2 separate regions of the Homo sapiens genome follow, and region 1 is linked to region 2. The links are contacts of gene promoters, found by promoter capture Hi-C in blood cells and fetal thymus (Javierre and others, 2016). All regions are on one chromosome and are shown on one strand. Each heading gives the region's core, a stretch centred on a gene start or on the middle of the fragment in contact. The rest is flanking DNA. Distances are from core to core; before and after follow the strand shown. Region 1 has its middle 110 kb from the start of SLC8A1. Region 2 holds the start of THUMPD2 (THUMP domain 2 tRNA and snRNA guanosine methyltransferase).

Region 1 (3,279 bases), core at 475-2,974, 790 kb before region 2:
TATCTTACAAAAAGACAAGTAAATGTAGATTTATAGCAGAAAACTGTTATAATAAGAGATTTCAGACTTTTCTCTATAAACCGTATGGCAGAACTACCTAGCCTCTATTTCCTATACATATTTCAGATGTAAGTAATCTAGAATCTCCCACATTTTCCACTGACTTACTAACTGGCTGTCTGGAGGCTTCACGCTTTTGAAACCAGCAACGTAGGCCATGGCACAACTGGCTCTAGCACCAAGTGCCTGGCAGAAGCAGCAGAATTGCCCACTTTTTCCAATACAAACTAAAACCAGAAAGATATAGTACTCCCTAGCTTTCCCTGTCAATACACACTGTTTCATCAGCAAGTACCTGCTGACTAATACCTAAAAAAGAGATGTTTGTTCGATTCTGGGAAGGAGTGGGAGAGGAAAGTTGGGTTCATCATTCATTTTCTTTAAGATTTAATGAATTATATTCTATAGAGTCCTATAGAGTTTGAACTCTATTCACTGTATATGCACCTCAAACATGCTAGTAGATAAGACCATGACAGAAGCTAGGAGTACAAAATGCAAGAATAAATCCATTCTGATTTATTTTAATGTAACCAGTACTAACAATGTAGTTTTAGCTTTTTAAAATGTGATAAATACAAAATTAAACAGGATGCCAGGGGTAGGGAGGGCATGAACTAGAACTACCACGTGCAAAAGAGAATTTGTACAATTTGTAAAAATTTACATAATTTGTAAAGCAAAATTTTTAAAAAATGCTTCTCTCATCCATGGAAACCAATAAATACTCTCCAGTTCTTTGAAAATTTAGAAAAGTATCTGGAAACTTACACTGTCCTCTAGGTTGAAGTTTAAACATCTTTTATGTGGGTCTCATTACTTATTCCCAAGAATGGGTCAGATCATTCCATCTATGTGAGAGAAGGCAGTATTCTGATTTTACAAGAGTTGGTGGTCATTATTGCCTGTGCTTGAAGCCACTGTTCCAGGTACCAAGCTAACAAATATAAGGTGTAGTTCTTTAAAACAGTAGGAACAAAAAGTTGAGTGTCCTGAGTCATAGGGGTTAAGTGGTAAGATATTGGAGGGTCTCTGGTATCTTTTTCACTTAAGATATTAATATTTTTTATTTAAGAAGTTTTCTACCAAAAGCCTAGGAACCTAACAATAAAATTGCCCACTCCCCCTCCCCAATACCAACCCTCTTAGACATCAATCTTTCCTTCAGTTTCTCTTGTTATTTTATGCTCTCATCCCTCTTCTCATTGTAGAGTAATGGGATCCAAGTTTGAGCTTTGGAAGGAAATCTAAACCGGCCCTTGAGGCTGCTTTGCTTCTAGACCATTCAGAATGATTTGGCTTCGGTAATGGCATTCTCCATGGGGTCCAATGTAGCTCCTTGGAATGCTCCAGGGGAATTGGGTAAAAAATCCCATCTAGTCATTAAGGATGACTTTGTCTTCCTTTTCTTCCTTAAAGACCTCCTTAGGAGAGGTGATTGTTCAACATCAGAATACAAATATTCCTATGTCTCTTGGTTAAATATTTCTACTACCCATCAACATCCTCAATGCCTTAAAGAGAAAATATAATGCTGACATGCATCAGATGAATACGCTTTACATATTATCAAAACTTGATAGGATATAGTCTAAATTCCTTAATAGAATGTTCAAGCTCTTCATGGTCTGAATCTGCCCTGTACTGTCTAACACAGTGACCACTAACCTTATGTAGCTACTGAGCACTTAAAATTGAGATGTGCTGTAAATGTAGTATACATACTGAATTTTTGAAACTTAATATGAAAAAAGAAGATACAAATTCTTGTAAATATTATTTACATGAATTACATGTTGAAATGGTAATAGTTTAGATACATTGAGTTAAATAAAATATAAAAATTAATTTAATTTTTTTTTGCTTTTTTTAAACAAAGCTACTAGGAAATTTAAAGTTTCATATGTGGATAGCATTTTATTTCTATTGGACAGCACTGGTGTATGTTTTGCTCCTCAACTTGAAGTCATATTCTGCTTATTGCCTTGACAAGGTATTTATGCTTCAGTACTTTGCAAATAGTGTTCTGAATCATGTTTTACAATTGTTCTTCCTCTTTAACTTTCACCCCATTATACCCTATTGCACAAATTGATGACCATGACATGCAATAGATGAATAGCTAAAAAGCATAGTTCATATGTCGCTTCCTTTGCAAAGTCATCTCCGTTCCCTAAGACAGTTAATTGTGCTAATCCTAGCCTTATGTCTACACTTACTGTGAACTTGTGCACTATACTGTAATTATTATGTACATGTGTGTCTGTTTACTTACCTACAAGCCCCTTGAAGTCAGGGACCATGACATATATACTTAACGTAGTACATAGTTTTCAATGAATGCTTCCTAAATGGAATCAAATAGTATTCCTCTATATCCTCTGGTTAATCTGCATGAATATCAACACCTAGTCTATGAACATTACATCAACATAAAGTGGTATTGAGAAGTTATGATACTGCAGAAACTAAAACATCTACTTAAAAATAATTTATATTCCCCTTTCTGTGTCCAAGTGTTCTCATTGTTCAGTTCCCACCTATGAGTGAGAACATGCGGTGTTTGGTTTTTTGTCCTTGCGATAGTTTGCTGAGAGTGATGGTTTCCAGCTTCATCCATGTCCCTAGCGGGGGAGGGATAGCATTAGGAGATATACCTCATGTAAATGACGAGTTAATGGATGCAGCACACCAACATGGCACATATATGCGTACGTAACAAACCTGCACATTGTGCACATGTACCCTAGAACTTAAAGTTTAATAAAAAAAATTAAAAAATAATTTATAAATCAAAACTGAATATGGTCATCAATAATTATATAATCATCATGAACTGTAGCTGCATTTATATACAAAGCAAAATAACTATATAAAAGTAAACAAAAATAAATTTCTGAGAGTTAGTAATTCCTGAAAGTTATTGAGTACTCAATATGTGCATCTCACCACATGAAGAATATGCTGTCTCATACAATGTTCATAATGTATTTTTATCATTCCGGTGTTAGAATAAAATAGGGTAAATCTGACATTGAGCGAAGGTAGTCTGACTTTAGAACTCTTGAACTTCCAATCTTTTGGAAATAAATTATAATATGGGTTTCCCAATAGGTTCAAAGACCACCAAAAATGGAATACTTTGTCACATTCAGATAGACAGGTCTATTTTTCATTATCTGAGTCAGATTCTTTGTCCTTGGTTTGGCTAAGAGTTTT
Region 2 (3,576 bases), core at 195-2,694:
CCCCAGACAGACTTGACAGTCAGAACCCCAAAGTATAGAGAAGTTAAAATGAACTACGGCAGTAGCCCAGAAAAGGAAAACATGTGTCTGAGGGCAAGAAAAGAATTCATCAAAACGGTAGTGTGTGAGGGCTGGGTGCCTGTAATCCCAGCACTTTGGGAGGCCGAGGCAGGCGGATCGCTTGATCTCAGGAGTTCGAGACCAGCCTGGCCAACATGGTGAAACCCCTTCTCTACAAAAAATACAAAAATTAGCCCGGTGTGGTGGGGCTTGCCTGTGGTCCCAGCTACTGGACAGGCTGAGGTGGGAGGATTACTGGAGCTCAGGAGGTGGAGGCTGCAGTGAGCCAAGATCACGTCACTGCGCTCCAGCCTGGGCGACAGAGGGAGACCCTGTCGCAAAAAATAAAAAATAAAAAGCAGCATCAGAAGAGTCTTAGGACTGAACCTTGGAAAAGCTCATGTTATGTGACTCCATGAAGAATTTTTACTGTACGGCCCAGTAGAGCATGAGCTGGGTGGGGGCGGGGGTGTGTGTGGGAGTGTCGGGGGAGGTGAGGGAGTATCAGTTCTTCACCTTAACATCCCATTCTGAAGCACAGGACAGCCCCTTGTCAGAGACACACATGCATTTATCATTTCTGTATAACTGACTCAATATACAGCTACAGAGCTAATTTCACGCTGTTTATCTTGTAACATGGATTCTGTCTATGCTTCCCAAGTAATATTTTCATTTCCATTTTAAAATTCAGAGTTTAGAAAAATGCCTTCAAATACCGTTAGGAGAACCATTCAAATCAGGTGCCCAAAACTAGATGGCACATTGATTCATCTATGGCTGGATGGTTAACTAAGTAGTGCAAGAAATATGAGCTGTTTCAGAACGCAGACGTTTGTTAGAGAACAGGAACTTCTGCTCTCCGTCCTGGAGATTCCAACGTTTGGCCCGATTCTTTGTGAAAACAGACCAGGGCTCCTTCTATGAGAAGAGTAGAGGAGAGGAATGAAGGACAGGAAGAGGACGGAGTTGGGAGGAATGGAGGAAAAGGCATTATGTTAGATAGGGAGAAATCTAGGCTCCAGCCTCAGCTGTGCTGCTAACTCGCTGTCTCTTGACCTCTCTGGGCATTAATTTCCTCAATCTACAAAATAAGGCAACTGGACTGAATTATCAATTCTAACCCTTCCACCTGTGATTCTAACCCATTCTGGTGCCTAATCAAGGAGGGGACAGATGGTCAACCAGGAAGACCCATAGGGGCCACAGAGGGCTGATGCGACCCTCCCAGGCTCTCCGTCTCTCTCACCCTCTCCTTCCCCCTCCCTCTCCCCCTCCCCCTCTCCCTCTCCCTCTCCCTCTCCCCTTTGGCATCACACGCCCCTGCGCGCCGCCTCCAGGAGCGAGCCGCTCGCGCCCGAGGCCACGTGACCCGAAGGCGCGAGGGCGCGCCTGAGCCGCCATGTCGGAGGCGCGTGGAGAGCCAGGGTCCGGGCCTGAGGCTGGCGCCCGATTCTTCTGCACTGCGGGTCGCGGCCTGGAGCCGTTCGTAATGCGAGAGGTGCGGGCGCGGCTGGCGGCCACGCAGGTGAGTTGGCCTCGCTGCGCGCCTGGGGAGGTGGGCGGCCCTGTCCCTGCCCTGTTGCCCACCCCAGTCGTGGACGCGGGAAAGCGTCGCTGGCGCCCCTCTCTGTTCCACGCGACGGTCGCCGACCCCCGAGGTTGACTGGCAGGCGCTTCCGCTCCGGCCGAGAGAAGCCACCATTCCTTTCTTTCCTTGTATAGCAAATCCAGTTCCTCACTTCTCAGGGCTCAAGTTTTTAAGAGAGGTGTTGAGGCAAGTTATTTCCTGGATTCTTTAAAGTAGTAAGTAGTGCCTGTAATTAGAATCTGGCCTGTCAGAGTTAGAACCCTTCGCTCTTTAAATGCAAACATAATCTCCAAGTTCAGTTACCTGACTTTTTGTTAGTTTCTTGACAGTGATTGTATTTGACTACATAGGATTGTTGTGAGAATTAAATTATATAGCGTATGCAAAGTACACTTTAAACACGCAGTAAATAGCAGCCAGAAAAATAATATACTCTTGCAGGCCTCATAGTTATCTGTTATTGATTTCTGTGAAATGAACAAGGTTTTAAGCATCGGTTTAGGTTTTAGAATGTTGAAAACTGGTTTCTTGAAAGTAGGGGATGAAGGTATAATAGAAAAGGTATCTTGATGGGGTGTATGGGACACTGTGAGTGATGTACTCTTGGAAAAGGAGAGCTTCCTAAATGAAATTAACCCCTCCACCCTGGCAGCTCCTACAGTGTGGGAAGCCCACAAAAGGAGTTTCTGCAGTGAAAGGTTGGAGTCGTGAAGAATTATGTCAGTTTTGTTAGACTACCTGCCACTTGTGTTTTGGGTCACAGAATTTAATAGAGTATTGAATGTAGCTAATCTTAAAAAGCATCAATATATAATAACTACTGACATTTATTGAACATTTAATATGTGTCAGGCACATGTTCTTAGATCTTTACCCTATATTTATTTGCGTACTTTTCACAACAGCCCTATAAGGTAGGTGTTCCACATTTAACAGATGAGAAAAATGAAGCACAGGTAAGTCCGAGAATTTATTCAAGTCATGCAACTAGAAAATCGCAAAGATGGGATTCAAACCCGAGCTGGGAAATCAAGAATGAGTATATAATCATGTTCAAACCAGGCCCACTATATGACCATGACATAGGGGTGCGCTGGCTTGTTTTTTTAAATGCTAACTTAGAGTGCTTGGTATGAAAGAGAGAGAGAGCTTGGCCCAATTAATATGTAGGATTATTAGAAAAAGGAAAGACTCTCTGCTTGTTCTCCATCTTCTCTAAAGACAAATGAAATGGGGAAAACTTTATTACCAGGAAGAAAATTCAATTAAATACAGGGAAAACTTTTTGACAGTGGGAGTAATTAAATGCCAGTAGATTTGGGAATTTCCATATTCTGCTCTTGTATGTTTGAAAGATAGATAGGTCTGGAAATGGGATCTGAACAAATAATCTCTGAAATTCCACCCAAGTTGCTCTGATACAAAGTGAACTCTCAAAGTTAAGGCAATCCTGAAATAACAGTGATGACAACTAACATTTATTAAACACTTAAAATGTTAGACAAGTTATGTGCATGTTATGATTTAATCCTCAAAAGACTCCTATCTGATAGACTTTTACCTCCATATTTTACCAAAAAAAGAGAAAATTGGGACTTGTCTCTGAGTCTCTCTAGCTTTAAAGCCCATGTGCTTTACCACTAGGCTAAATTACCATGGGAATCTTCCCTGGAACATTGGATGTAGTTTATTTCTGTAACACCACGGTAGAGTACGTATGGTCTTTAGAATCAAAAGACCTGTGTGCAGATCTTATATATTCCTTTAGTGGATTTGTAACTTTGGGCAAATTACTCAAATTTCTGAGCCTCAATTTTCTTGGATGTAAAATAGAGATGATAGCTACTTTAAAGGATTACTGCAGTCCCTGAAATAAAGATAGCACAGGTAGCATGCTGCCTAACAAATAGTTGGTGCTCAATTTT

The links. The method cuts DNA at HindIII sites, captures the fragments that hold promoters and counts their contacts. A CHiCAGO score of 5 or more calls a contact.
Region 1: a contact is called between a fragment that was not itself captured here and the fragment with the promoter of THUMPD2 in region 2, in 1 of 17 cell types (neutrophils). The highest score is 7.0, in neutrophils.

Annotation. Positions count from the first base shown.
Region 1 is chr2:40,563,268-40,566,546 of GRCh38, reverse strand. No RefSeq gene overlaps it. Among named protein-coding and RNA genes, the nearest start is that of SLC8A1, 110 kb to the right of the region's middle. The HindIII fragment of the contact is 5,514 bases long and covers 1-3,279 here.
Region 2 is chr2:39,777,126-39,780,701 of GRCh38, reverse strand. It overlaps THUMPD2 (THUMP domain 2 tRNA and snRNA guanosine methyltransferase), which reads left to right and starts at 1,444. Exons shown (of 10, transcript NM_025264.5): 1 at 1,444-1,588. The coding sequence starts at 1,463. The HindIII fragment of the contact is 5,327 bases long and covers 1-3,576 here.